Regions from separate parts of the Homo sapiens genome. Here region 1 is linked to region 2. The links are contacts of gene promoters, found by promoter capture Hi-C in blood cells and fetal thymus (Javierre and others, 2016). All regions are on one chromosome and are shown on one strand. The core of a region is centred on a gene start or on the middle of the fragment in contact, and the rest is flanking DNA. Distances in the headings are between cores, read along the strand shown.

Region 1 (5,991 bases), core at 3,292-5,791, 160 kb before region 2:
GACGGTCTTTTTTTTTTTTTTTTTTTTTTTTTTTTGAGATGGAGTCTTGCTCTGTCGCCCAGGCTGGAGTGCAGTGGCGTGATCTCAGCTCACTGCAAGCCCTGCCTCCCGGGTTCACGCCATTATCCTGTCTCAGCCTCTCGAGTAGCTGGGACTACAGGCGCCCGCCATCTCACCCCGCTAATTTTTTTGTATTTTTAGTAGAGACGGGGTTTCACCGTGTTAGTCAGGATGGTCTCGATCTCCTGACCTCGTGATCCACCTACCTCGGCCTCCCAAAGTGCTGGGATTACAGGCATGAGCCACTGCGCCCGGCCAAAAGGTCTTTTTTTTTTTTTTTTTGCCTTTTGGTAACTGATGTAACAAGCAAATGTTTCATCTTATCAAAATAATTCCTATGTTATTGTTATTATTGATTTTCCTAAGAAAACTGAGATTGTAAAAAATTAAGATTATGACATTAATGTAACTTTCGGCATTACTTTTAAAGTCCTTGTGCTCTTAAGTTACAGGACTTTGACTCCTGGGTCTAAAAAGGACACCAAGACCTGCAAAATTTTAAACACTGACAGCAGTTAAAGCCTCATTTTTGGACCCTAGAGAAGATTACAATCAAAATAAACTGTGTTCGTGAGACACAAGGCCAGAAATTAAAACTATTATTATTGAACCCCTCTAGACCCAGGGACTATCATGGAAAAGGTGAGCATGCAAGATTGTAAGGGCCAATTTTGAGAGATGAAATTAGTTCAGAGTTTCTCTATAACTTAAACATTAATGTTAAAGGCACACTGAAGCAAGACCAGCATCTGGCTTATATAAATTATATCTTATGGTCAAGATGATTGAAGCTTGTTTATAAGATTGAGAAACTGGCCCCATACCTTGTCCCTTATTAGGGCTTATTATTTAGGAAAGTAAGTCTCCTCTCTCAAAAAATAATAATTTAAGGTCTTTGCATTTTTTTGAAGTGTCTGAGTTACTACTTTGGCTAAATGAATGACTTTAGACAATCACCTATGATCCTATTTTGTGATATTAAGTGTCATAGACTTTCGATATTTGACTAACTTTCCAAAATCAACTTCTAAATTCAGTCTTTGTGACCTCATTATTTTTTATATTAGATCTCCTGAAGTCCATGAGAGACATATTTGACTAATTTAGTACAATAAAATCATACTACATGAAGTAGCGCTGTCAGTTTGGGAGTGAATGAAGGGGGACGGATGCAGAAATAAAGACAAAGACAAAAAGATCTGTTTTGAAAGAAGGATCAGGGGGCTCCTCGCTTCTAGTGAGCAAAGGCCCTGAGCTTCTACAGCCCTTCGTATTTAATAGATGGAAAGAGCAGGAAGGGAGAGGTAATGGTTGGTCAGCTGCTTGATTTATCACAGGGACACGTATATCTATAACAGCCACAGGTGCTTCTGTGACCCACATTTTCCCTGGCGGGTCCTCACACTGGCTCAATAAACTTGGATGATTTGAGACTTTGCCTTGGTCATTCACTTTTGTGGTCCATGGGGGCCTGGTCATCAAAAGCCCAGTCAATGGGACATAGTCATTGCGGGCCTTGTCTGTGGTGACCTGGTCAGCCAGAGTCTTGTCAGTGAGGGGGAAGCCCGGTCAGCAGGATCTAAGTCAGTGGGGTTTTGCTCGGTGAGGAATTGGTCACTGGGGTCTGCTCAGTATGGGCCTTATCTGTAAAAATCTAGTCAGTGGGCCAGGCACGGTGGCTCATGCCTGTAATTCCAACACTTTGGGAGGCCAAGGTGGATAGATCACCTGAGGTCAGGAGTTTGACACCAGTCTGGCCAACATGGTGAAACCCCACCTCTACTAAGAATGCAAAAATTAGCCAGTTATGGTGGAATATGCCTGTAATTCCAGCACTTTGGGAGGCCGAGGTGGGTAGATCACCTGAGGTCAGGAGTTTGACACCAGTCTGGCCAACATGGTGAAACCCCACCTCTACTAAGAATACAAAAAATAGCCAGGCGTGGTGGCATGTGCCTGTCGTCCCAGCTACTCGGGAGGCTGAGGCAGGAGAATCACTTGAACCTAATCAGGAAGTGGAGGTTGCAGTGAGCCAAGATCACACCACTGTACTCCAACATGGGTGACAGAGGCAGCCTCCATCTCAAAAACAAACAACAAAAAACCTAGTCAGTGGGGGTGTAGGGAGTGGTATTTTGTTCAGTAGGGGCCTGGTCACTGGGGGTCTGGTCAGCGGGATCTGAAAAGTAGAGCCTCGTTAGTAGGGGTTGGGCGGTTAGCACCTGGTCAGTGGAAACCTCGTCATTGTGGTCTAGTCAGCTGAGGCCTGGCGGTGTGGTCCTGCTCAGTCAGCGAAGGTCTCACCATTGGAAGCATGTCAGTGTGGCCTAGTCAGCAGATCCCGGTCCATGGGATTTGGTTATTTGGGACCTGGTCAATGGGGACGTGTTCTGTGGGGACCATGTCAGCAGAGACCTGGTTGTCAGGGGTGTGGTCAGCTAATGCGGTGCCACCGAAGGACTCCCCAGTGGGGCCTACTCAGTGGGGCCCTGGTCAGTGGAGGCCTGGTTGTAAGGGGCACTGTTGGCAGTGACCTTGTCATTGAGCTCCTGGCCAGTTGGGACCAGTCAGTGGTTTGGGTCAGTGGGGCCTGGTCTGTGGGGCCATGTCATGTGGTCTGGTCAGTGGGGCCCTGGCAGTGTGGGCCTGGTCATCAGAAGCCTAGTCAGTGGGGGGGCCTACTCACGGGGGTGTTGGTCAGTGAGGACATGGTCATTGTGGTCGGCTTAACGGGATCCATTCAATGAGGGTCAGGTCATGGAAAATCTGGTCAGTGGGGTTTGATCAGCAGGGGACTGCTCAGTGGGGATCGGACCAGTGGGGCCTGGTCAGCAGGCGGCCGGCAGTTCCTGGGGCCTGGTCAGTGGGGTCCAGCAGTTGGGACCTGGTTGATTGGAGGGTCCAGCCCTACGGGACTTAGCGGGTGTTCTCCCCGTGTGCAGAGACGAGAGAGCGTAAGAAATAAAGACACAAGACCAAGAGATAAAGAGAAAACAGCTGGGCCCGAGGGACCACTACCATCAAGACGCGGAGACCAGTAGTGGCCCTGAATGGCTGGGCACACTGATATTTATTGCATACAAGACAAGGGGCGTAGGGTCAGGAGGGTGAATCTTCTAAGTGATTGACAAGGTGAAGCAAGTCACGTGATCACAGCACAGGGGGCCCTTCCCTCTTAGGTAGCCGAAGCAGAGAGAGAGAAGGCAGCATACGTCAGCGTTTTCTTCTATGCACTTACAAGAAAGATCAAAGACTGTAAGACTTTCACTATTCCTTCTACCGCTATCTACTACAAATTTCAAAGAGGAACCAGGAGTACGGGAGGAACATGAAAGTGACCATTGGAGCACAGCACCACAAGGAGGGGTTTAGGCCTCCGGATGACTGCGGCAGGCCTAGATAATATCCAGCCTTCCACAAGAAGCTGGTGGAGCAGTGTTCCCTGACTCCTCCAAGGAAAGGAGACTCCCTTTCGCAGTCTGCTAAGTAACGGGCGCCTTCCCAGACACTGGCGTTACCGCTTGACCAAGGAGCCCTCAAGCTGCCCTTATGCACGCGTTGACAGAGGGCTCACCTCTTGCCTTCTAGGTCACTTCTAACAATGTCCCTTCAGCACCTGACCCTCTACCCGCCAGTTATTCCTAGGTTATGTTAGTAACGCAACAAAGAGTAATATTAAAAGCTAATGATTAATAATGTTTATAATAATGATTGATAATTGTCCATGATCATCTCTATATCTAATTTGTATTATGACTATTCTTATTCTAACTATTTTCTTTATTATACTGAAACAGTTTGTGTCTTCAGTCTCTCACCTCGGCACCTGGGTAATCCTCCGCCCACAGTCAATAGGGGTCTGCAGCTGGGGCAAGGTCAGCGGGGATCTGATCAGTGAGACCTAGTCAGGTCTCACTGACTGACTAGGCCCTGGGGGTTGGGGCCTGGCCAGCAAGAGTCCAGTAGTTGGGGCGTGTTTGGCGAGGGTCTCATGGTTGGGGTCTGGCCAGCGGGGGTCCCACAGTTGGGGCCTGGTGAGCAGAGATCTGGCAGTTGCAGCCTCGTCCATGGGGGTCTGGCAGTTGGGGCCTGGTCAGCGGGGTCTTATAGTTGGGGCCTGTTTGGAGGGGGTCCAGCAGTTGGGGCCTGGTCAGAGGGGATACGGCAGCTGGGGGTTATTTGGCAGGGATGCAGCAGCTGGGACCTGGTAGGTGGGGTCTGGCGGTTGGGGCCTGGTCAGTGAGGATCAGATCAGTGCGGTCTAGGCAGTGAGGTCTGGACGCTGGGCCTTCATCTGCATGGGTCTCGCAGTTGGGACCTGGTCAGCAGGGGTCTACCAGTTGGGGCCTGGTTGGCGGAATCAGGCAGTTGGGACCTGGTTGTCGGGGGTCCAACAGTTGGGGCCTGGTCAAAGGGGATCCAGCAGTTGGAACCTGGTCAGCAGGGCTCTGGCAGTTGGGGCCTGGTCATTGGGGTCTGGCAGTTGGGGCCTGGTCAACAGGGGTCCAGGAGCTGAGGCCTGGTTGGTGGGCCGTCTAGCAGTTGAGGCCTGGTCATCTGGGCCCGGCATTTGGGGCCTGATCGGCGGGGATCAGAGCAGTGAGGCCTAGTCAGTGAGGTGTGGATGTGGGGGCCTGGTAAGCAGGGGCCCAGCAGTTGGGGTCTGGTCAGCAGGGGTCTCATAAGAAGAGGCCTGGTTGGCAAGGGTCTGGCAGTTGGGGCTCAGTCAGGAGGGGTCTAGGAGTTGGGGCCCAGTCAGTGGGGTCTGGCAGTTTGGGCTTGATCAGTGCAGTCCAGCAGTTGTTGGGGCCTGGTCAGTGGGGGTCCAGTAGCTGGGACATGGTCAGTGGAGTCCAGCGTCCGGGGCCTGGTTGGCAGGGGTCTGACAGTTGGCGCCTGGTTGGTGGGGATCCCATAGTTGGGGCCTGTCAGCAGGGATCCAGCATTTGGGGCCCAGTCAGTGGGGTTCAGCTTTTGGGGCCTGGTGAGTGGGGTTCAGCATTTGGGGCCTGGCCAGCAGGGGTCCAGCAGTTGTTAGGGCCTGGTCAGCGGGGGTCTGATTAGTGAGATCTATTTGGTGGGGTCCATCAGTTGGGACCTAGTCAGTGAGGGCCGTGAGGGCCTTGTCAGTTGCAGCCTTGTTATTGTGGCCTTTGTCAGTGGTGTCTGATGAGCCAGGGCCTGGTCTGTGGGGCCCAGTCAGCAGGACCTGGTCAGTCCACATCTGGTCAGTGGGACCTGGTCATTGTGGGGGTGGTCAGCTAGGACCTGTTCAGTGGGAGCTTAACCATTGGAAGCCTGGCCAGTGGGATCCTGGGTGATCTCAGGCCACGGGTTAGTCCTCGAAGCCTCCGTGATTGCCTCCATCCATGGGGTGGGGGGTGAGTCACAGCACCCCAGTGGGCTTCTGGGAGGAGGAGGTGAGAGGGTGCATTGCATTGAATCCAGCCCTGCCACACAGACCTGGCACTTTACACACTACGCGAGTCACCCCAAGGGGGAAGCCTGGCTTCTGCCCTCTGCCCTCTGCCCTCTGCCCTTTGCCCTATGTCCCTGCCCCATCTGCATCCCCAGGACCACCCAGCATGGAAAGAGCAGAGGCTGAGGAGCACCTATGGGTGCTCTGATGCTGGCCACAGGCCCGGGGGTGACAGTGACAGGGATCCAGGTGCACACCTGAGTGGAGCAGCCAGGCCCAGCTGGAGGAGAGACGTGTTCACCCACACACATGCATCCTCACATACACAGACAAATTGCACGCATACATGTTGACCATTAAGCGGGCAGAGGACGCTGACCCTGGGCCCTGCTGAGCCAGGTAGGGCCCCGTCATGACAGAGGCTGTGAACCCATGCTGTCACTGTGCCAAGTGCCGCCAGCCTACCTCCGTGTCATGGAGCAGTTGGAGACACAGAGGTGCTGTAAGTGGTT
Region 2 (6,354 bases), core at 2,453-4,952:
AGAGTCTCGGTCTGTCACCCAGGCTGGAGTGCAGTGGCACAATCTCGGCTCACTGTAACCTCTGCCTCCCGGGTTCAAGCAATTCTCCTGCCTCAGCCTCCCAAGTAGCTGGGATTACAGGCACACCCTGCCACGCCCGGCTAATTCTTTTGTATTTTTAGTAGCGACGGGGTTTCATGTTGGTCAGGCTGGTCTCAAACTCCTGACCTCAGATGATCCACCTGACTTAGCCTCCCAAAGTGTTGGGATTACAGGCGTGAGCCACCGCACCTGGCCAAGTCCCTTCTCTTTCACATTCACAGCTGCTCACTGCACACTGAGGTATACTGGGTCCCCAAGAACACTCAGCCCTGGGCCTGGACCTCAAGCATACAGAGCCTGACACAGGCACCCCTAACCTCCCTGGGGGCAGGGTCAAGGTGCAGAGAGGGCCACAGGACAAAGGGAGACTGGACTGGGGGAAGCAAGCTAGCGAGGAGAAGGGGGTTCCTGGAAGAGGGGACATTGGTTCTGGGCTTTGAAGCATGAGTAGGAGCTTCTAAAGCAGATGGAGTTGGGAGAAGGGAGGGTGCTTATGGCCAGATCACAGCAAGCATTCAGAGAATCCTATATAATCCACACATCTCTGGATATTGTCATGTTATCAGCAAGACCCTGCCTCCAAAGATACCTTCACTTTCATACCTTCCCTTCCTCTCCTTATAATGGGAGGAAGAGGCCGGATGCAGCGGCTCATGCCTGTAATCCCAGTACTTTGGGAGGCCGAGGCGGGTGGATCACCAGAGGTCAGGAGTTCGAGACTAGCCTGGCCAACATGGTGAAACCCCATCTCTACTGAAAATACAAAAAATTAGCTGGGCGTGGTGACGGGCACCTGTAATCCCAACTACTCGGGAGGCCGAGGCAGGAGAATCACTTGAACCTGGGAGCTGGAGGTTGCAGTGAGCTGAGATCGTGTCACTGCACTCCAGCCTGGGCAACAAGAACGAGACTCTGTCTCAAAAAAAAAAAAGAAAAGAAAAAAGAAAGAAAGAGGCCGGGCGCGGTGGCTCACGCCTGTAATTCCAGCACTTTGAGAGGCCGAGGCAGGTGGATCACGAGGACAGGAGATCAAGACCATCCTGGCTAACATGGTGAAACCCCGTCTCCACTAAAAATATAAAAATTTAGCCAGGCGTGGTGGTGGGCGCCTGTAGTCCCAGCTACTCCGGAGGCTGAGGCAGGACAATGGTGTGAACCCGGGAGGCGCAGCATGCAGTGAACCGAGATCAAGCCAGTGCACTCCAGCCTGGGCAACAGAATGAGACTCGGTCTCAATAAAAAAAATAAATAAATAAAAAATAAAAAAGAAAGAAAGAAAAGAAGAAAGAAAGAAAAAAAAGGAGGGATTCCTCAATGGGGCAGAGCAGAGACAAACAGCTAATAGTCACATTTTTTCTAAAGGGCAGACAAAAGATATTTTGCAAATAACTGAATACCACACACACTATCCAGATTATAAGGCCAGTTCTCCACTCAGAAGCCCTCACCTGTGACACCATACCTTCATTAGGGCATGCTGAGCAGCAGCCTTGCAGAGACCATCCTTGGTGGGTCTGAGGTCCCCAAGCTGCTAGGGACTGTCTCTGAGAGAGACATGAGTCCCTAGGTCATATGATGACTAGGAACTCAATGAAGGTGGGGTGGGGAGACCTAGAACTTTCATCCTGACCACTCAGTTCCCTGTCGGGGTCCCATCAGGGAATACCCTGGGTTTAGGTTTCTGTGTGGCTCTGAGCATGTTCCTCTCCTCTCCCTCTCTGTGCCTTGGTTATTCTATCTGATAAGCAAGAAGCTTGGGACAGACAAAATGTCTGTCCTTGGGGCCTTGGGGCTCTGTGCATTTACCCTTCAGCCTGGGATCAGCCCCGCCCTGTCTGAGCCTCAGTTTCCCCATCAGTAATTTGATCGTGATGGCCGAGGTGACCCTGCAAGCTGTCCTCACCCAAACAATGGGGCTCACTAGTAAAAGGTGTGGCCATCAATAATGGATGTCCTGTTACTACACAACTGGGGCCTTGGCCCCGATCACACTGCAGCTGAACCCTGGCCAGCTTGGGTTTCATAGCTCCAAGTTCATGGGTCGGGGCCCCTGGGCAATGGCCCCACAGGCCGAGTGATGATGTGGGATACTCATCTGTGCCCATCGTGCTGGGTCACGCCAGGGACCTGCAGCAGCCTTGGGCCACCTCCTCACACCCTCATCTTAATGCCAAGCCCACAACCCAGACTGGGCTCTGGACTTTGCACCTGGGCTCCCAGCCTCAAGTCCCAGTCTCAGGAGAATCTTTATCTTTCATTTTGTTTTTCTGAGGCAGAGTCTAGCTCTGTCACCCAGGCTGGAGCACAGTGGCGTGATCTCGGCTCACTGCAACCTCCACCTCCCAGGTTCAAGCAATTCTCCTGCCTCAGCCTCTTGAGTAGCTGGGATTACAGGCACCCACCACCTCGCCCAGCTGATTTTTGTATTATTAGCAGAGATGGGGTTTCACCATGTTGGCCAGGCTGATCTTAAACTCCTGACCTCAGGTGATCCACCCACCTTGTCCTCCCAAAGTGCTGGGATTACAGGCATGAGCCACCGCGCCCAGCCTCAGGAGAATCTTTCTAACGTGCTGATGGTCTCTCCCCTGCTCATGCATGCTCCATAGCTCCCTGCCACCCTTGGGAGAAAGCCCAAGCTCATCAGCCTAGAGACTGGGACAGTATGACAAGATGTGACTTGTCAGCTTCTCCATCTCTGCCTCTGTCCACTGACCACACCTGCCCCCCTTCCCCATTTGAGTCCCAACAAATTGGAAATACCAGTTGGGCATGGTGGCTCACACCTGTAATCCCAGCACTTTGGGAGGCTGAGGCAGGGGGATCGCTTGAGCCCAAGGGTTTAAGACCAGCCTGGGCAACATAGTGAGAGCCCCATCTCTATAAAAAAATACAAAAATGAGGTACATGTGGTGGCTCGCACCAGTGGTCCTAGCTACTCGAGAGGCTGAGGTGGGAGGATCACCTGACCTTGGGAGATCGAGCCTGCAATGAGCCATGATTGCACCACTGCACTCCAGCCCAGGCAATAGAGACAGACCCTGTCTCAAAAAAAAAGAAAAGAAGGAAGGAAGGAAGGAAGGGAGGGAGGGAGGGAGAGAGAGAGAGAAAAGAGAAAGAAAGAAAGAAAGACTACTTACACACACACACACACACACACACACACACACACACACACACACCAAATTGCAAATATCCTCCAGCAATGAATAGAAAGTTGTTTTTCCAGATCTTCTCTCCCTTCCTCCCTGGACTGACCTCATGATCTCCTTCCTTGTGAAAAATGTGCAGTCCTGTGGAGAGAGGTGTTGTCTTAACCCGAACCCTGCCTCTGGGGCCTCCTCCCACGGCCTCCTCCCTCCACCCCACACTCACACAGATGGCCTGATGCTGCCACACACAGAGCAGAACCAGGAACCCAGGCGGACGGTACACCCAGATGAAGGCATTCTGTTCCCATTTCCCAGACCACGGAACCAAAGTTGTCAAACCCACTGAGGACCCATCCTGCCCCCCTCTACCTGATACGCTTCCAGCTGCTCGTGTGTGAAGACTGTCTGCTTGTTGCCCATGGTGTGAACCACAGCCCAGACTTGGGGATGCACCCCAAAGGCTCCCAGCTTCCTCGGGGCCACACGGGTTGCCAGGCTGTTGTGTACCAGTGTCTGGGCAAATCTCCCTGCCCTGGCTGTCACCCACCCACCTACGCCATCACCCCCTGCTTGATGAGACTCAAATTACAGCCAGGCTCTCTGGACAACAGCCTGAATGTGTCCATGGGTAAGGATAAGGGCTGTGGGATGTCACAGAGAAGACCTCAGTGGGGAGGCCACATCTGCCACCACAAGGTGAGGCTGGGGTTATGGGGCACACTCAAGAGACAGGCAGGGTATACAGAAGGGCTATGGGCACACTGCAGCTCAAATCCCAGCTCTCTGCCCACTAGCTGTGTGGCCCTGGGCAAGTCACCTGACTTCTCTGAACCTCATTCATGAGATGAAAATTACATTATACCTACCTCATAGGGTCATTCTCAGGATCTGAGATTTAAAAAAAAAAAAAAAAGGTTTTGACTGGGCAAGGTGGCTCACACCTGTAATCCCAGCACTTTGGGAGGGCCAGGCAGGCGGATCACCTGAGGTCAGGAGTTCAAGACCAGCCTGGCCAACACGGCAAAACCCCATCTCTACTAAAAATACAAAAATTAGCTTGGCATTGTGACACATGCCTGTAATCCCAGCTACTCCAGAGACTGAGGCAGGAGAATTGCTTGAACCCAGGAGGTGGAGGTTGCAGTGAGCCGAGATCCCGCCATTGCACTCCAGACTGGGTGACAGAGTAAGACTCCATCTCCAAAAAAAAAAAAAAGGTTTTGGCTGGGCGAGGTGGCTCATACCTGTAATCCCAGCACTTTAGGAGGACAAAGCATGAGATTCACTTGAGGCCAGGAGTTCAAGATCAGCTTGGGCAGCATGGCAAGGCCCTATCTCTACTAAAAATACAAAAATTAGCTGGATGTGGTGGTGCATGCCTGTGGTCCCAGCTACTCAGGAGGCTGAGGTGGGAGGATTGCTTGAGCCCAGGAGTTTGAGGCTGCAGTGAGCCATGATTGCATCACTGCATTGGGAACATAATGGTGAACAAGCTAGATGAAGTTCTGGGGTGTGCATTGACATTATTATTTTATTACATTTTATTTTTTTGAGACAGTCTCACTCTGTTGCCCAGGCTGGAGTGCAGTGGTGTGATCTCGGTTCACTGCAATCTCTGCCTCCCAGGTTCAAGTGATTCTCCTGCCTCAGCATCCCAGGTAGCTGGGACCACAGGTGTCCACCATGCCAAGCTAATTTTTTTTGTATTTTTTTTTTTTGAGACGGAGTCTCGCTCTGTCACCCAGTCTAGGGTGCAGTGGCGTGATCTCGGCTCACTGCAAGCTCCACCTCCCGAGTTCAGGCCATTCTCCTGCCTCAGCCTCCCGAGTAGCTGGGATTATTACAGGCGCCCACCACCACGCCTGGCTAAGTTTTGTATTTTTAGTAGAGACAGAGTTTCACTATGTTGGCCAGGCTGGTCTCGAACTCCTGACCTCAGGTGATCCACCCGCCTCGGCCTCCCAAAGTGCTGGAATTACATGTGTGAGCCACCTCGCCCGGCCCAAAGGGCAGATCTAATGTAGCAGCTACCAACTTTATTAAGGCCCAGAATCCTCTTGGGTGGAGAATCTGAGAGTCTAAATTTCTTAGCCTGGCCCTCCATGCCCTTCTCACTTTGGGTCTCACCTGTGTTTTCTCTACCTGGCCTGGACTATTGCAATGTTTCCCAGCAGGCTTTCCTGCCTCGGCCTCATCAAGCATCCTCTGCCAAATCTGTGCAGTCATCTTGTAAAATGTGACCCTGATCAGGCTTGAAAGATGCCTCAAGGATGACTTTTTTTTTTTTTTGAGACAGGGTCTCACTCTGTCACCCAGGCTGGAGAGCAGTGATACAATCATGGCTCACTGCAGCGACCCTCCTTCCTCAGCCTCCCAGGTAGCTGGCACTAGAGGCACATGCTGCCACATCCGGCTAATTTTTTTTTTTTTGTATTTTTTGTGGAGACAGGGTCTGTCTATGTTGCCCAGGCTGGTCTTGAACACCTGGCCTCAAGTGATCTACCCACCTTAGCCTCCCAAAGTGCTGGGATTACAGGCATGAACCACCATGCCCAGCCATCCAAGAATAACTTTCAAAAAATAAACAATATCAAGTGTTGGTGAGGGTATGGAGCAACTGGAATGCTCATACATTGCTGGTGTTGATGCAAAATGGTATAGACACTCTGGAAAATAGGTTGGCTGGGTTTTTTTTAAATAGAATTAAACTTAACCTTACCACAAGATTCAGGGCCTGGTATGGTGGCTCATGCCTGTAATCCCAGCACTTTGGGAGGCCAAGGCAAGAGGACCACTTTAGCCCAGGAGTTGGAGACCAGCCTAGGCAACATGGTGAAGCCCCATCTCTACAAAAATACAAAAATTAGCCAGGTTTGGTGGTATCCAGCTACTTGGGAGGTTTGCTTGAGGTAGGGAGGTCGAGGATGAAGTGAGCTATGATCACTCCACTGTACTGCACTCCAGCCTGGGAGACAGAGTGAGATCCTGTCTCAAAAAAAAAAAAAAAAAAAGACTCCTGGGTGTTTACCCAAGGGAAATAAAAACCTATGTTCAACTGAGAGTGACCCCTAATGTAAACTATCCACTAACCACTGTGGGTGATAATGATGTATCAGTGTCA

What was found. Contacts are between HindIII fragments. The CHiCAGO score rates a contact against its expected background, and 5 or more counts as called.
Region 1: the fragment with the promoter of LINC00661 here is called in contact with the fragment with the promoter of CIB3 in region 2 in 1 of 17 cell types (endothelial precursors); the score reaches 5.3 in endothelial precursors.

Annotation. Positions count from the first base shown.
Region 1 is chr19:16,011,093-16,017,083 of GRCh38, forward strand. It overlaps LINC00661 (long intergenic non-protein coding RNA 661), which reads left to right and starts at 4,542. Exons shown (of 9, transcript NR_026828.1): 1 at 4,542-4,697. LOC105372291 (a long non-coding RNA gene) reads right to left here and starts at 3,964. Exons shown (of 2, transcript XR_936355.1): 1 at 3,879-3,964; 2 at 3,044-3,293. The HindIII fragment of the contact is 12,039 bases long and covers 850-5,991 here.
Region 2 is chr19:16,169,823-16,176,176 of GRCh38, forward strand. It overlaps CIB3 (calcium and integrin binding family member 3), which reads right to left and starts at 3,703. Exons shown (of 6, transcript NM_054113.4): 1 at 3,603-3,703; 2 at 3,340-3,374. The coding sequence starts at 3,653. The HindIII fragment of the contact is 19,742 bases long and covers 1,833-6,354 here.